2 separate regions of the Homo sapiens genome follow, and region 1 is linked to region 2. The links are contacts of gene promoters, found by promoter capture Hi-C in blood cells and fetal thymus (Javierre and others, 2016). All regions are on one chromosome and are shown on one strand. The core of a region is centred on a gene start or on the middle of the fragment in contact, and the rest is flanking DNA. Distances in the headings are between cores, read along the strand shown. Region 1 overlaps DLD (dihydrolipoamide dehydrogenase). Region 2 holds the start of LAMB4 (laminin subunit beta 4).

Evidence for each region. Contacts are between HindIII fragments. The CHiCAGO score rates a contact against its expected background, and 5 or more counts as called.
Region 1: a fragment that was not itself captured here is called in contact with the fragment with the promoter of LAMB4 in region 2 in 1 of 17 cell types (endothelial precursors); the score reaches 5.9 in endothelial precursors.

What each region holds. Positions count from the first base shown.
Region 1 is chr7:107,917,685-107,922,825 of GRCh38, forward strand. It overlaps DLD (dihydrolipoamide dehydrogenase), which reads left to right. Exons shown (of 14, transcript NM_000108.5): 12 at 240-377; 13 at 1,326-1,415; 14 at 1,510-3,514. The coding sequence ends at 1,575. Among named protein-coding and RNA genes, the nearest start is that of DLD, 29 kb to the left of the region's middle. RefSeq lists an enhancer at 369-768. The HindIII fragment of the contact is 276 bases long and covers 1,245-1,520 here.
Region 2 is chr7:108,128,766-108,133,919 of GRCh38, forward strand. LAMB4 (laminin subunit beta 4) reads right to left here and starts at 1,596. Exons shown (of 34, transcript NM_007356.3): 1 at 1,541-1,596. The HindIII fragment of the contact is 5,422 bases long and covers 1-2,473 here.

The sequences.
Region 1 (5,141 bases), core at 133-2,632, 210 kb before region 2:
TCCAGATCTTTTATATTTGGCTTTGAAATATAACCAGATGGACAGACATTTGTATTTGCTTGTATTCGTGCCTGAGATATAGTTCATTAACCAGTCTTCTGGTCTTTCCTTTCCTTCTATGTGCTTTGCGAACAATTCCCTTCTTGGGATTTATTTTCTGAACAAATGGTAGATGATTTTACAAATTGGAAAGAACTTTTCTGGCAGTTACGTAGATTCTTTTTTTCTGACTGTCACAGGGTATTGAGTACAAAGTTGGGAAATTCCCATTTGCTGCTAACAGCAGAGCTAAGACAAATGCTGACACAGATGGCATGGTGAAGATCCTTGGGCAGAAATCGACAGACAGAGTACTGGGAGCACATATTCTTGGACCAGTGAGTATTGTAAAACCAGAGAAATCCCATTAAGATTTCTAGAAAGCATTGCTGTTTATTAATTATAAACCACCTGGTGTTAGTCTGAGGTTGCTCATTTCCAGCAAAACTTTGAATATGGCTCTCTGTGCATCATTTCTAGAAGGATACCAGCAGCACTCTCACAGTCTTGCCCACTGTATCATCTACTTTGTCCTGCAGCCAAGATTCTCTCTTTAAAACATACACCAGATTATGCCCCTTAAAATCCTCCAGTGGTGCTTTTCAACTTCAGATTGTTACATCCAAGGCCTCACTGAATCTGTTTGTGCCTACTTCTCTGACCTCTTCTTTTTCTGCTCTCTTTTACTCATTAATGCCATGTCACATGGGCCTTCTCTCATTTTCACAACAGACCAAATATTTGCATTTTAGGGCCTTTGTGCTTAAGATACCCTCTGCTTAGACTGTTCTGCCTCCAGATCTTTGAATGGCTGGCTCCTTATTATTCAGGTCTCAGCTCAAATGTTACCTCCTAAGGGAAGCCTTTCCTACCACTGAGCCTAAAGTATGTATCTTTCTTGTAGATATCTCTTGTATCTGATGTAACAATAATGAGAATAGAATATTTGAGTGCTGTGTCACTTTAGTATACATTTTGTTATTTTTACATCAGCTTTTTGAAATAGGTGCTGTTATTTTTGAGGTGAAGAAACTGAATGAAGCACAAAGAACCAATGAATGGTTAAGGTAGTAAGTGGTAGATATGAATTGAAGGCCCTTTGGCTCCAGAGCCCAAGCTCTTCTGTGTCACCTTTTCTATTAAGCTTTTCCTGACTTTTCTTCAACTGATAAAGAAACAGATTTAAGGCGTTTTTAAGATCTAAAAGCTTCCCCTCAACAATTGCTATCCTATTAGCATGTAGTTTTTGCCTTGGAAGCAAATTTACTTGGCTTGTTATTTTAAAGGGTGCTGGAGAAATGGTAAATGAAGCTGCTCTTGCTTTGGAATATGGAGCATCCTGTGAAGATATAGCTAGAGTCTGTCATGCACATCCGGTAATTATTAACAACATATAGAATTGATGGTTGCCTAAATTTTCTTCTGACCCACAAATATTTGGATTTTAATTTTAAATTTCTTCCCTTGCAGACCTTATCAGAAGCTTTTAGAGAAGCAAATCTTGCTGCGTCATTTGGCAAATCAATCAACTTTTGAATTAGAAGATTATATATATTTTTTTCTGAAATTTCCTGGGAGCTTTTGTAGAAGTCACATTCCTGAACAGGATATTCTCACAGCTCCAAGAATTTCTAGGACTGAATTATGAAACTTTTGGAAGGTATTTAATAGGTTTGGACAAAATGGAATACTCTTATATCTATATTTTACATAAATTTAGTATTTTGTTTCAGTGCACTAATGTGTAAGACAAAAAGCTACTTATTGTAGCATCCTGGAATATCTCCGTCAACTCATATTTTCATGCTGTTCATGAAAGATTCAATGCCCCTGAATTTAAATAGCTTTTTTCTCTGATACAGAAAAGTTGAATTTTACATGGCTGGAGCTAGAATTTGATATGTGAACAGTTGTGTTTGAAGCACAGTGATCAAGTTATTTTTAATTTGGTTTTCACATTGGAAACAAGTCAGTCATTCAGATATGATTCAAATGTCTATAAACCGAACTGATGTAAGTAAACGGTCTCTCACTTGTTTTATTTAACCTCTAAATTCTTTCATTTTAGGGGTAGCATTTGTGTTGAAGAGGTTTTAAAGCTTCCATTGTTGTCTGCAACTCTGAAGGGTAATTATATAGTTACCCAAATTAAGAGAGTCTATTTACGGAACTCAAATACGTGGGCATTCAAATGTATTACAGTGGGGAATGAAGATACTGAAATAAACGTCTTAAATATTCATTTACTGGTTATCATGAGTACGTGTTGAGATGGTCATAGTTTTTTTTATGACTACTTCTAGTGTATATTCTAATTTCTTTTCTAGGCCTGAATGTATCTTTATTTTCATGTTATAGGACAATATTAAGGCATTTTAAAGGTCATCATCCTTTCATCTATTTTAGATACACCTACTAAATGTTTAATATATACTTTTGGAGAAGTACAACATAAGGGAGTCTTTAATCTGTGTTTTCCTTGGCTGGGTTAATGACTGTTTATTTAAAGAGTGTTGTAAAATTGGATGTGTGGTGTTTAAAATGGCCATGTCCTGAGGAAACTTAAGTAACAAAGTACTAAATGCTAAGTAGGCTTTTGCATATTGTAACTAAATTTAAGAATAATTCAGATTAAGTAGTTCTGAAATTTGGTATAGATAGCATAGATTGTCTCATGCTCATGAGTGACATAATGACCCTGGATTCTGTTACATACTTCTAAAGAAAATTGATTGTTGTCTTAGGAGGCAGTTAACTTGGCTGAACACCAACTCCACACTCTGTCTTGTTTGTAGGTGGCAGCAGCTGAAATCTCTTCTCAGTTGTTTTAGCTTTAGCTATGCTGCTGGAAGTCTTTCCCATGCAAGTGTGTAGTTCAGGGGTCAACCAGAGTTTGGGCAGAAGGAAGTCTGCCCCTTCTGTGCCTCCTGTTTTTTGGGGGTTTCCCCTTTATGTTCCAGCTGTTGTGGTTGCCCCATATTCTGCCTTCTGATCCTTAACCAATAAAACTTGGCTTTTGTTTCCCCCTCAAGTGAGAACCCGTTAAAAATGAGACATTGAGCCAGTGCTGTTCACTTTTTAAGTGCCAACTTCCCTCTACTTTCCACTTGTTTATAGTTGTTTCCAGTGCCTTTAGTTTTTTCTAAAATATATTTGTTCAGAGTTTGCAGTTGCTATCAGCAGGAGGGTTGGTCTGATATCTGTGTGCTACTTTGCCATTATTGGAAGTGAACTCTGCATCTTTTTAAAAATTTGAAATCCCGGTATCATGTGAAGTGCTGTTTATGTAAATCTCAACATATCCCTTACTCAGGGAAAAAAAAGTTTTTAGTTAGGGAATAGTGAAATATAATTTAATATGGAATTCTAGCTGTAGAGTTAAATCCATCTTTAAGTGTTTACATTCAGTATGAGAATGCAAATTTATCTGTATGGGGAATAAAGTCCTAGGAATAAAACAAGTTTTAAGTGTTCACTTACTGTTATCTACTAAGCTGTCAATATTTTTGTGGCTTGTGAAGAGTGAAATTAATTGTCCACTTCATTGAACTGATTAAAATTAGTAATTTCAACTGGCTGGGAGCGGTGGCTCACTCCTGTAATCCCAGCACTTTGGGAGGCCGGGGCGGGCAGATCACCTGCGGTCAGGAGTTTGAGACCAACCTGACCAATGTGGTAAAACCCCATCTCTACTAAAAATATAAAAATTAGCCAGGTGTGGTGGCAGGCCCCTGTAATCCCAACTACTCAGGAGGCTGAGGCAGAATCACTTGAACCCAGGAGGCGGTGAGCTGAGATCATGCCACTGCATTCTAGCCTGGCGACAGAGCGAAACTCCGTCTCAAAAAAAAAAAAAAAGTAATTTCAAAGTGAGATCTTTAGTTGTTTAGCTGAAAAGGAATGGAGAGTGTTTCTACTGTTCTAAGTAAAATACTACATAATTGCTCTAGTAGATGATGGGGTATGACCATTTTTGCTAGTTATTGGGATTTTTTTTTTTAATTAAGTTCTGGGGTACATGTGCAGAACATGCAGGTTTGTTACATAGGTATACATGTGCCATGGTGGTTTGCTGCACCCATCAACCCATCATCTACATTAGGTATTTCTCTTAATGCTATCCCTCCCCCACCCCCATCCCCTTGTCCATGTGTTTTCATTGTTCACCTCCCACTTACAAGTGAGAACATGTGGTGTTTGGTTTTCTATTTTTGTGTTAGTTTGCTGAGAACGATGGTTTCCAGCTTCATCCATGTCCCTGCAAAGGATGTGAACTCATCCTTTATTATGGCTGCATAGTATTCCATGGTGTATATGTGCCACATTTTCTTTATCCATTCTGTCATAGATGGGCATTTGGGTTGGTTCCAAGTCTTTGCTATTGTGAACAGTGCCTCAATAAACATACATGTGCATGTGTCTTTATAGTAGAATGATTTATAATCCTTCGGGTATATACCCAGTAATAGCATTGCTGGGTCAAATGGTATTTCTAGTTCTAGATCCTTGAGGAATTGCCACACTGTCTTCCACAATGGTTGAACTAATTTACACTCCCACTAACAGTGTAAAAGTGTTCCTATTTCTCCACAGCCTCTCCAGCATCTGTTGTTTGCTGACTTTTTAATGATTGTCATTCTAACTGGCATGAGATGGTATCTCATTGTGGTTTTGATTTGCATTTCTCTATTGAACAGTGATGATGAGCTTTTTTTCATGTTTGTTGGCTGCATGCATGTCTTCTTTTGAGAAGTGTCTGTTCATATCCTTCACCAACTTTTTGATGGGTTTGAAGTTCTTTGCAAAAATTTTCTCCCATTCTCTAGGTTGCCTGTTCACTCTGATGATAGTTTCTTTTGCTGTGCAGAAGCTCTTTAATTAGATCCCGTTTGTCAATTTTGGCTTTTGTTGCCATTGCTTTTGGTGTTTCAGTCATGAAGTCTTTGCCCATGCCTATGTCCTGAATGGTAATTGCCTAGGGTTTTTATGGTTTTAGGTCTTACGTTTAAGTCTTCAATCCATCTTGAGTTAATGTTTGTATAAGGTGTAAGGAAGGGATCCAGTTTCAGCTTTCTGCATATGGCTAGCCAGTTTTCCCAACA
Region 2 (5,154 bases), core at 346-2,845:
TTTCGGGTTGGTTTACCAGAGCTGACATTGGAAAGCCTCTCAGGGGCTACATGGCACTCTTTTCTTGTTAAATTCATCAGTGAGTTTTAGTAATATATGTAAAAGTGATTAGGAGTAATAAACAAAACATTTTCCCTCCTTTGGATGAGATATGTATAAACGTATTTCCAAAGGCGCTGGGTGCATTTTGGTAGCCGTTTAATGAATGCTGCTAGATGACACTGGTCTTAAAATGTATTAAGTGTTGCAATAAACAGTGAAATATATTAGACTGAAAGTAACTTTCTGGCATTGCTAATTTATTTAATTTACTGACCATTCACTTATATTTGCCTCATCTGCTCTCACTTGAAGGCTGCAAAGAGTTTACTCTTTTTTGTCAAAACAATTTGGATGAAACAGATGAAGAGAAAAGGGCCATGTGGTGCCCATTTGCCCAGCTCCTAGAACCACAGGTGCATCGTGTTTGATAAGAGCCTCTCCGCAGGAAAGACATGCATTCCGCTCCTGTTTCTACTACAGCACCTTTCTTCTGCAAATTGGACAGTAATTTATAACACAGAAGATAATTATAAATACATTTATATTAGCCCTTAAGACTTTTTCTGGTACACAAATAATTGTCTATAAAGTGACAGTTCTCAGAAATCTTGTATTTAACTTTCCTTTGTCTAACTTTTTTTCATGTTATGTCAGGACTCATTAGATATTTCAACTGTTTTGCCTAAATTTCATCATAGTGAGGAATGCAGAATACAGAACTATAAAGTTTACTTTTTTTTTTTTTTTGGAGACAGAGTCTTCCTCTGTCACCCAGGCTGTAGTACAGTGGCACATTCTTGGTTCACTGCAACCTCAACCTCCCATGCTTAAGCAGTCCTTCCATCTCAACCTCCTGAGTAGCTGGGATTACAGGCATGTGCCACTACGGCTGTATAGTTTTTACAGAGATGGGGTTTCGCCATGTTGCTCAGGCTGGTCTTGACCTCCTGAGCTCAAGCAATTTGCCTGCCTCGGCCTCCCAGAGGGCTGGGATTACAGGCATGAGCCACCATGCCCGGCCAAGTTTATGTTTCTTTTAGTTATAGCAGACTTGCTTTTCTTAAAACAATATTTACACATATCTAGAACATTAACAAAATATTTTGAAAATATGGGTAGTTCTAATGCATTTAAACTTTTATAAGTTGTCATAAGTTTTATAACCATAACAAAAACAAACATTTGCTGAAAACACAATACAGTTGTACATTTCAACACTACATCATTTGAAGCTCCCTTCAAGGTACAGTAAGGCTCAAGTTGTTGGCTTCATATCACAATGCACTAACATCAATTTTCCCATTGGATACTGTTTTATGTTGCAAGAACCTTTATTTAAGTGTCATTGGACTATCATTCTGTAAAAGTAATAGTAATCTATGTGCTAATATGTCCCATTTCTTACTTTATGACAACTCCACTTACCCCCTAAATTCTAATACCTTCATTTAATCCATAAAAATGCCAATTTGCTAGTGAGAGAGCAGGCAAGACTTACCAGGATCTGGGAGTCTTTGTGGAGAGGTTCAGGCAGCAAACGGGGCATGTGAAGACACACCTGAAAGTTAGAGCCAGTTTATGTAGAAAACATTCTCCCCGAGGCACCTAAAAGTAGGGAAAAAAAAAGACAAGAGGTATTCCAATGCCTGTCAAAAAGGTGATTTGTGAAGTCACTTAAGTTTTAACTTATACACACACACACACCCACACACACACATAAACAGGGAAATAGAGCTCAGTTTTACAGCAAATATTTTTCTTGTTTTCTCTAAAACCAATTTTAATAGCCAGGAATAATGCACAGACATTTTGTTCCCTGATTTATTTATGTTTTTCTGGTTCATGTTTTAGCGGTCATTTTCAGACAGCTTGATACTTACCAGCTATAAAATGTGCGGAATTAGATGGGCTTGTTTCTCAGGAATGTGAGACCCCTGACTCCATCCCAATCTACTTTCAGGCGGACCAGGTGGAATAGTTTCAGATGGGTTCCCAAGGCTCTGACCAGTCCTACCTGGCTCAAGATCATCTTAAATGGCTCATAGATTTCTGTTTACCTTGTGATTCGGCAAGTACAACTAACCATTGTGGGAATGGCAAGTTTAAGTGGTTTTGGAATCCATGTGGTTTGAAATTTCATTCTCCTACGAGGAAGGTTTATAGTATAGAAATGAACCTACAGCAATCTTACATTTTATTCACTTGTCAGTGGATTAATATCTCCATTTCAAATCTGTGCAGTTTCAATGGGTAAGTTTATTGGTTGCTTGAAAAAACATTTAGGATTTCTAGAAGCTCATGGAAAATACCCTTAGGGAAGAAAAATGATTGTGAACTGAGCCAAAATGAGATGCTCATTTTTACACAACATTTACAAATCAGGAAATAGATTCAACAAACTTTCACCAAATACCACTCTTACAGGCCTTTAAGCTTTTTCAAGGGTATTTTTCAATGCTTCTTACCTGTTATTTGTGTTTTAATTTATTGCTCTATTTTTCCATCGATGCCACTGTTTTTAATTTTGTTCCCTATAGGTCAGGTTCATCTGCTCACTTCTGATGTACTAGAAAGCAAACTCCAAGAGGGCAGGAACATGTCTTTTCCATTTTAGGATGAAGTATAGAAGAAGCTTGCAGTCAATATTTGCTAAACTAACTTGTTTTATTTATTTTTTACAAGCCAACAGCTGCCACAAAGTACCAGGTGGTAGGAGACCAAAGAGCAGTATTTGGTTTTTAGGTGGATACTTCAGCAAAGTGTGTGAGTGAAATCAAGGGACTTTCAGTTTGTTCAATTGACGGGTTTGTGATCTGTTTTATTAGACCAATACTATTTTCCCTTTAGACTCTTAAATTATTGTGCAAAGCATAAACTCTAGGCATTAAAATTTATATAATTTTTAAACTTATTTCAAACATTGGAATTTCATATTGTCTTTTTTGCCTTTTGAGATATGTAAATTTTAAAAGCTTGTTGCATTCTTGAGTGATTTGATTATATCTTGAGGGGTTTTCCTGTTATATGTGTCTCCAGTTTTATGACGAGAATCAAAGTTACATGGTTCAAATTTCAAAAATTTCCCTTTAAATAATCATGAATAGGTTATCGTAGGCTGTTTTCCTGTAAACTGATGGCATGTCTTGGGGTATCTGCTTTCATCTCAATGAGTTAACTATTTACCTCTTAAGATTAGGTGTAGAGTTAGAAGCTGTCAGGCAGGATATATTTTCAAGAAAAATAATTTTCCCATGCAACTAAAAGATCAGTCTATCAGTTAATCAGAAGCAGTCTTTCAGTATAGCTCTCCTTAAAGTGTTGATATCTTTTTTATTAAAAGGAAAATAGCTTTATTGCTTTTCCTGGAGAGTAGTATATGCTCTTTTACCCAAAATCGGACAATATAAAAATTCAAAGGAAAAAGAAAGTAAAAATCCTTGAAAGCCTCAAATTTTTTGGTAACTATCTTTCCAGATCCCTCCTCCTCATTCTCTGGTTCTTTTCTTTAGTCTATATACGCCTGTAATTTTTCTTTAGTCTCTATTTCTTCAGTCACAGAACCTTAAAAACCAACAGATTCCATTAGGTAAAATTGACCTATCAGAATTCATTTGTTGCAAGTATACATGTTAATGCCTTCGGTTGAACTAAAGTTAAATGTGAGAGAGGTGAATATTTCATCTCTTCCTTAAGACGAGGTATTTCCTCAGAAGTCAGCCTGGGAAGAAATTCCTGGCGCAGCCTCATCTCAACCAGAACTGCTTGGTGAGCCTTCTCTCGCTGTGGCCTTGCCCGTCATTCCCGCGCGGTGGCCCACCTAACTGCAGGGCTGAGGAGGTTGTTCCTAAAAAGACTTGCCCACAGTCGGGATTCCATGAGGGCTAAGGAGTCTTCACTGGGCACAGCGAGGCTTGCAAGTCCTGACAGGAAGTGTGGAGGATTACTCAGTCACAGAAAACCTTGAAACAGCTAATCAGCCTTTAATTAGATTCAGTGAACCTGAATGAAGCTAAGATCCCAGGGCTTGAGGCAGCTGACGTACTCTGCCAAAGCTCTGAAAGGACAGAAGGGAGCGGACTGCCTACAACGCCCTCAGGCAGCGAGGAAGTGGCAAAACCCTCCCTGACAGAACCCTTGTCAACCCCCTTTGTATTGTCTCAGAGTGACCCCAGACAGAGGGCTCATTGGCACCTGGAGAGAACCCCAATGGACTTACCATTTGGCTTCTCTTATAACCAACTCTCCCAGTTCTTCCCCTAACAGGAAGACCCATCCAGCCTGCAGTGGCCTGGGCCTGAGGTTATCCTGGCATCTTCCACCTCAGAATCTGCCTTGGCGTGCTCTAATTACAGAGACTGAGGTAGATGGAGCTCGCAGGGCATTTAGGAGAGAGGAGGAGAGGAGACTCAGGTCCATTGATTGTTCTTATAATCCCTGCAACAATCTAAAAATACATTGCAACATTTATAGGTAAGTGTTAAAATGTACCAAATTTTACAGTTGTTGATAAATGTGTAAAAGCTGTGTCATTTCTTTCTTTCTTTCTTTTTCTTTGAGATGGAGTCCCACTCTGTCGCCCAGGCTGGAGTGCAGTGGCGCGATCCCGGCTCACTGCAAGCTCCGCCTCCCAGGTTCACGCCATTCTCCTGCCCCAGCCTCCCGAGTAGCTGGAACTACAGGCACACGCTACCATGCCCGGCTAATTTTTTTGTATTTTTTTAGTAGAAACGGGGTTTCACCGTGTTAGCCAGGATGGTCTTGATCTCCTGACCTCGTGATCTGCCTGCCTCGGCCTCCCGAAGTGCTGGGATTACAGGCGTGAGCCAGCGCGCCCGGCCAAAAGCTGTGTCATTTCTAAGCAAAAATTAACCAGTCTTACAGTGTGAGACCCAGCTAGGACTTTAGAGATAATTATAGTTCTCTTTGTCCTTGAGAAAAAATGAAAATCTAGAGAGTTAAATGACTCAGCTAAAGCCACACATTAGTCCACGGCCACCTCACTGTAACAGCCCACAGTGGACGCCATGTTTCTTTTGTTGTTTGGCGTGGTAGCTTTGTGGCATAGTCACACTAGCACTCTTGAAGATTTCAGTGAATCTGGGGGAATGGGAA